2 separate regions of the Homo sapiens genome follow, and region 1 is linked to region 2. The links are contacts of gene promoters, found by promoter capture Hi-C in blood cells and fetal thymus (Javierre and others, 2016). All regions are on one chromosome and are shown on one strand. The core of a region is centred on a gene start or on the middle of the fragment in contact, and the rest is flanking DNA. Distances in the headings are between cores, read along the strand shown. Region 1 overlaps LOC124904486 (a long non-coding RNA gene). Region 2 holds the start of TMEM183A (transmembrane protein 183A).

What was found. Contacts are between HindIII fragments. The CHiCAGO score rates a contact against its expected background, and 5 or more counts as called.
Region 1: a contact is called between a fragment that was not itself captured here and the fragment with the promoter of TMEM183A in region 2, in 3 of 17 cell types (fetal thymus, M0 macrophages and M1 macrophages). The highest score is 10.0, in fetal thymus.

Annotation. Positions count from the first base shown.
Region 1 is chr1:203,267,907-203,271,618 of GRCh38, forward strand. It overlaps LOC124904486 (a long non-coding RNA gene), which reads right to left. Exons shown (of 2, transcript XR_007066798.1): 2 at 1-3,712. Among named protein-coding and RNA genes, the nearest start is that of LINC01353, 17 kb to the right of the region's middle. The HindIII fragment of the contact is 1,041 bases long and covers 1,166-2,206 here.
Region 2 is chr1:203,006,117-203,009,614 of GRCh38, forward strand. It overlaps TMEM183A (transmembrane protein 183A), which reads left to right and starts at 1,258. Exons shown (of 8, transcript NM_138391.6): 1 at 1,258-1,458; 2 at 1,658-1,747; 3 at 2,527-2,694. The coding sequence starts at 1,350. It also overlaps the pseudogene MGAT4FP. RefSeq lists enhancers at 477-606, 610-1,384, 1,385-2,157 and a silencer at 1,317-1,566. The HindIII fragment of the contact is 953 bases long and covers 798-1,750 here.

The DNA.
Region 1 (3,712 bases), core at 436-2,935, 260 kb after region 2:
CCCAGAGAACTCTTCTGCCCTCAATGGGCTGCAACGCACTTTCTCCAGCAAGGACTGAACCCCAGTCTCGGAGAGCTAGGCTTCTTCACGTTCGTTCTTTCTTTTTGGGTTCTCCCCCACCCCTGCGAGATCATCTAACATTCCTCTTTATTCCCACTGCACCATTAATTTCTATCCTGACTGATTCACAACCCCGAGTTCCGAAGCAAGGGCAAGCTGTGGGGCGCTTCTTGCCGTCTCTACTCAAAACGGAAAAAGCTGGCCAGGCGCGGTGGCTCACGTCTGTAATCCCAGCACTTTGGGAGACTGAGACAGGAGGATCGCTTGAGCCCAGGAGTTCAAGATCAGTCTGGACAACGTAAGGAGACCCTGTCTCTTCAAATATATATATATATATATATATATATATATATACACACACACACACACACATATACATATGTGTATATATACATATATATGTGTGTATATATATACACATATATGTGTGTGTATATATGTATATATGTATATAATTATATATGTATATATGTGTATATATACGTATATAATTATATATACACACATATATGTGTATATATGTAAAATTAGCCAGGCATGGTGGTACGTACCTATGGTCTCAGCTACTCAGGAGGCTGAGGCAGGAGGATCGCCTGAGCCCTGGGGTGTTGAGGCTGTGGTGAGCTGTGATGGTGCCACTGCACTCCAGCCTGGGGCAGGGACTGAGACCCCATCTCAAAAAATAAAAATAAAAAGAATGGAAAGAACCAATGAAATCTTGATGCTATTAACACCTCTGAATATTTCACTGGTTTCTAGAATCCACACAAAACAGGAATCCTACAGAATGATGGCTTGCAGAGGACATTGTAACAGGGCAGTCAAACCAGTTGGAGAAGTGTGCTCTGTCCTATAAAAACGTGCTCCTTCCTGACGTCTACCCCATGTTGGTGGGCCCATGATCTCCTCCTAGACCTCTCAGCTGAAATCAGTCCTGTCCCTGTGTTTGGTGTCCTTCATACCCTCTCGTGGCTGCCTCCCTGCCACGGCCCTGGCTCAGGCCCTGGTCACCTTGCCTAGGGTAGTGGCTTCCCTGGGAATGCCATCTCCACTCAATACTCCTTCTGGTGCTAGAGTGCCCTGCTCAAGGCCTCACCTCCCACGAAGCTTCCTGAACAGCTTAACTCACTGTTTCTTCCTGTTCTGCCCTCTCCTATTATCTGTGCAAATCTGAAGGCACTTTCTGCTCTGTCATGTACCTGATCTTTCCTGCCAGCCTAGACTGCTTTGATGAAAACTGCATCAGATAGCAGAGGAAACACTTATTTGTATGGAAGTGGCGTCCTCTGCTGGTAGAAGTATGTAATGACTGGAACTTTTCCCTAGCTGTGTAAAGGACCCTCACTGCCCAAAGCTGAGACAACCAGTGATACCCAAGGAAACCCAGCTGCCCTTCTCTCTGCCCACCCCAGTCCCTAAGCATGTAAAATTCAATCCACTGACTCACTCACCAGATTTCCACACCTCACTATTACACTAAGATGTTCCTGATGCTCCAGTCTCATGGATAATGGCAATCTTTAACATTAATTGGATATGCACTGTATATGCCAGGCACTGGGCTAATCTCTTCATCTGTATTATATTATTTAACCCTCATAGCAACTTTGTACGGCAGACAAGTGGACCAGATTCCTTAAAAGCAGAGCCTGGGACAGATTTCATGCATATCTTCTTCTGTTGGGGAAGAACCCTCAGAAGAAAGAAAAGGAAGGAGAGTGGGGTGGGGAAGGAGGGAGCCAGGCTGTGGTGTCAGCTGTGGCTGAGCTGCGGCCTGATTTCATGGGGATCCCTGAAGCATGTGCTACACCAGAGTTCATCTTGTCTTGAGGTCGGGGACTGGCCTTTCCTGCCCCTGTGTCAGACAAGCATCGGCTGCAAGCCCCAAGTAAGGCAGCTTCCATTCCCGGGGAAGTCTCTGCAGAGGGAATAACTGTGAACTGTTACCAGCCAAACCTCACAGCAGCCGGTGGGCAGGGATGGAGGGTTGCACCAGACCAGTAAAGGGGATTTGGCTGGGCACTAATAGCAACCATGGTACTGTTATTTCTACTGTACAAATGCAGAATTATAATCTTCCAGGTTTGTAGATACTTTATAGATTTTGAGTGTTTTCATATTCATTACCTCATTCAATGTTACAGTAAGCTTGAGAGGTAGTGATCATGATCCCCACTTTATGAATGAGAGTGAGAAGTGGGAGACTTCCTCAGGATTGTCCAGCCAATAAATACCTTCTCTGTTTATAAATAGCGTCTTCTCAGATACATAGGCAGCTGTATTGGGTCCCAGTCCAACCTCTTCCCTGTGACATTCAGGCTCTGGTCGTTTACCAAGGATCTTACAGCCCTTTTAACTCAAAAGAGCCATGAAGCTGGCAACCTTCCTTGCTGAGACTAGGTACGAGGATACACCTCCTATCAGGTGAGGCCTTACCTTGCCTGCCTGACACTTTGCTGGGCTCAGAATGCTTCTCCAAATTCCCCCATGGAAAGAAGACACCCGGGCACTTCTCACCTGCTCCTGCTTCTGCAGTTCCCTTGGCAGTTTCCTTAGAGGTGTCCCAGCAAGCTAGAGTCTGTCAGAGGACATTGAGGGCCAGGCCAGAGAAGTTTAGAAAGAGTCCCAGGACTACCTGAGCACTGCCTTCACCTGCCACAGGGGTAGCTGTGCAGCCAGTCTTGTGGCAGAGGCTGGGGTTTCCTGGATCTTAGAAGTGTCACCTCTTCCACCCTCTCAGGGCCCTGGACTTTCGCCCTCAAGCTGCCTCTGGATCTAGCAAAGGCCCTGAGCCATCTTTGGAATGGATGAGTTCGAAAAGCTGCATTAGAGTGGCTCCCCTCCTTCAACGCCACCTCATCAGAGTTCTAAGGGATGCTTCACACCTAAGAGCTGATGAGGTACAGCAGGAGCACACAGGGGACCCAGAAACCTCGCATTGTGTTGAGAAACAGCTGACTGACTCAGGTTCAAATCCCCCACTCTATCACAGGGCATCTCAGTTAAGATGAGGTAGAAATGAGAGTAACAGAAAATTCACAACAGCAGCAATTGTGTTGTTATTGAGTGGCCCTTGCCCTCATGGTACAAGGTAGCACCTGCCTACCAAGTAGCAAAACAGAGGGAGGGACAAAGAAGAAGGAGCAGACAGCAGATGCACAACCTGTGTCTTAAGAAAGGTTCCCAGACACTGCTGCATAACGCGTCTACTTACTTCTCTTTGGCCAGAACTCAGTCATGTGACCACGCCTACCCACACAGGAGACTGGGAAATGCAGTCTTCATTCTGGGCAGCCATGTTTCCTGCTACAACTTTTCTTACCCTGATAAAATAGTAGAAAGTTATTGGAGACTAGCAGCTTCTACCACACTAGATTCTGGCCTCGGGCAAGTCTCATGGCCTCTCTAGGCTTGGAGATAATGCTATCTTACAACAAACAATTTGTATTAACTGAAGCCTCCGATGCAAAGGATCTAGCACAGAGCCTGGAATATACTATGCACAACCTCCCCTTCTCTGTTCCTGCCTCCAGATATTCTGAAGTGTGTGGCAGTAGCTCAAGTGCTCTCAAATGTGGCCACAGTTCCTGCAGCCCGTGTCTGAGTGCTTTCTCTATGCAAACTCACAGGATCACCCTGTAACTTCTTACCA
Region 2 (3,498 bases), core at 8-2,507:
AGTAGTTTTTTGGAGGTATGGTGTGTTAGGAACAAACTGCCCCAAAAAGCTTCTTGGTACTGCCGACACTTCCCCCAAACCTCTCCGTGCTGCTCACTCCTCCCCCTAATGCTCTGCAACTCTTCTCCTTCCCCCAAGCCTCTTTACACTTCTAAGTCCTTATGAAGCCAGCAGACTTCACTTATCAGACCTTGCTGCAATAAACAAACCCCAATTACAAATCATCCGGACCGCACAGGGGAAGGTGATGGGAAGCATAAACAAACTTTACCTACACCCTCCTGTAATAAACGTCACAAGCTAATATGTGGCAAAATTAACCAGCAAACAACCCCAGGGTCTCTCTCCCCCATATAAACCCCTCATTTTGTAAGCTCAGGGGTGCCTCCTCTGTCTGTGGTGGAGCAGCCGTCAGGTTAATAAACTTCCTCGGCTGACCTTGGGTCTCTCTTTCGTCCTTTCTCTCGGCTAACCTTATATGGTGATAGATTGGAAACTTTTTTTTTTTTGAGACGGAGTCTTGCTCTGTCGCCCAGGCTGGAGTGCAGTGACCCGATCTCAGCTCACTGCAAGCTCCGCCTCCCGGGTTCATGCCATTCTTCCGCCTCAGCCTCCCGAGTAGCTGGGACTACAGGCGCCCGCCACCACGCCCGGCTAATATTTTGTATTTTTAGTAGAGACGGGGTTTCACCGTGTTAGCCAGGATGGTCTCGATCTCCTGACCTCGTGATCCGCCCGCCTCGGCCTTCCAAAGTACTGGGATTAGGGGCGTGAGCCACCGCGCCCGGCCGATTGGAAGCTTTTAAGAACTCCTTCTCCTATTTTGAGAATTCAGAAATTTATTTATAGCTTTCGTAAAATAGAGTGAAGACTCTTACAGACCTATGTTAGACTAGCAGGCGCTCAGTCTCTGTGGTCCGAGATAGAGCACGAAGATGACAGTGTATATGCATTTTGGTGCTGAAGTGGACCTGGAGTGTGGACAGAGGAGTTACTAAGAAGAATCCCGGAGACCAGGATGTAAACTCTCAATTCTAATCAACACAGGTGTGGGCTATGGTTCTGAGACACCATTCATCTCACACGAGGTACGGCGATACGCGACACCACCCAGTACAACAGCTCTCTCTCCACCTGGAACCCGGACCCAGCTTGATTCGCGGGTGCCGGATGATGACGTATCCTTGCACCTGGCGATGATTGGTTCGCGTGGAGAGGCGTCGTCCGACAACGCGACTCGGAACCCGGACCTATGTTCTCGCGAGAGTTAGCGGCCTCCGGTGTGGGATGGCCGCGGAGCCGGGCGGAGCTGGCTTGCGGCTCCCGGGGCCGGCTCTCCGGCCGGAGACATGGCCCGGGGGCCCGGCCCGCTAGGCAGGCCTCGCCCCGATACGGTCGCCATGCCCAAGAGAGGAAAGCGACTCAAGTTCCGGGCCCACGACGCCTGCTCCGGCCGAGGTGGGCGAGGGGGGCAGGGGCGCTGAAACATTTTGGGGGCTGGCGGCTGGGAGGGGGCTGGACCGTGCCGAGGTGAGCGCTCGCGTGCCCGCGGCTGGAGGGCGGCTCGGTCCGGGGGCCTGCAGCGAGGAGGAGGTGTTGGCGGGGAAGACGCTGACGAGAGAAGGCCTCTTCCTTGAGGGTTGGTGCTGTGTTGCAGTGACCGTGGCGGATTACGCCAACTCGGATCCGGCGGTCGTGAGGTCTGGACGAGTCAAGAAAGCCGTAGCCAACGCTGTTCAGCAGGAAGGTAAGCTTTGCGCGAGCCTTTAAAGACTCATGCCGCGAAGACAGAACTAGGTATTTTATTTCTGTTTTTCTTGCAGTCCTTTAGTCGTCTTCCTGTAACCGTGTTTGCTTTCGTTAGTGTTAACTTACATATTGGGGTGGAGGAGGATTAGTCAAGAGTAGCAGTTTCTGTAGCAGAAATATTTTCTTTCTTTCTTTGCATTTAAAAACATGTTTGCATACTTTTTAGTTTCCACTGCATTCTTCTTGGTTATTAATCTCTTTGCTGTAGTTCACATGTTTTACTCTGCAGTTTGCTTCCTTGTTTAATAACCTTGGAGTGTTCTTTTCCTTTTCTGGTGTTTCTCTTGCTTTCAGTCTGTTTACTCATGGGTCTGAGACTTGTGTTTTATGACACCTACTGCCTCCAGCTCAGGACCAGGATTAAATTGGATTCAATTTGTCTCAAACATTTCTCTGTAGACCTTATGAGAATACAAATCAGCTTTTATCCTGCAGGGTTTATAGTGGAAAAATTGTACACACCTTTTTTCTTCAGGGCTGAAAAAAGGAGTTTCTGCAACTTTGGAGTCAGTTTGCCCATTGCTTTCCTTTTTTTTTTTTTTTTTTGTATTTAAAATACTAAAATCTTTATTTTTTTTGGTGACAGATTCTCACCTTTCTCTCTCAACGATGTTTTTTTTCCCCCCTTTCCTGAATGGATGCTGATACCTTGGCTAAGTTGTTTGTATTTCTGGGTGGAGCTGTGTGCCATCTCATTCTCCTTTTATTTTCTTCTAGTAAAATCTCTTTGTGGCTTGGAAGCCTCTCAGGTTCCTGCAGAGGAAGCTCTTTCTGGGGCTGGTGAGCCCTGTGACATCATCGACAGCAGTGATGAGATGGATGCCCAGGAGGAAAGCATCCATGAGAGAACTGTCTCCAGAAAAAAGAAAAGCAAGAGACACAAAGGTATGGAGCTTGTTCTCTTTTGGTTTATTAGACCTGCCTGTGGTGACAAATTGAAGATGTTACTTTCCCAGTAGCACAGGAGGAGATATAAGACGTGATACCAGGAGAGTTTAAAGAAAACTTGGCTCTCCCTAAGAACCTTGGTAGTGGGCCGGGATTTAATACACCTGGGCTTTCTTTTTTCTTTTGTCTGAATTCGAGAGGGAAAGAGATTAGTACGTGTTAGTAGAGTTCTGGAGCTGTGAACTGGACTCTAGTAGCCCTTCATTGAGAACATGTTATTATCAGGTAAAAACCCATAAGGCAATGTGAAAATAAAAGGCCTTTGCATTTCTGGATTTCTGAATGTGTAAGGAAGCAGAGATGTAACCAAAAAATGTTTTCCAAAGTATGTGGATTTTACGTTAACTAGTTTTGTTACACACAAACATAGACATTATCGTGGGCTTTTAAGTGCTCTGCAATTAGTAATGTCTGCTTTATGTCTAATAAGTATTGTGGGAAATAGAAAAGTAGGTGATTTTTTTATATCCTAATGGCAATGAAATGTACACAAATGAAACAAAGAATAATAAACTGATGATAATATAACGTGCCAAACCATCATTCAGATTCTGGGTTTTCCTTCAGACTTAATGAGTCAGAATCTCTTGGGGTGGAACTCAGAATTTTTATTTATTTATTTTTTTGAGACAGGGTTTTGGTCTCTTGCCTGGGCTGGAGTGTAGTGGAAAGATCATGGCACACTGCAGCCTTGACTTCCCAGGCTTAAGCGATCCCCCCATCTTAGCCTTTTGAGTAGCT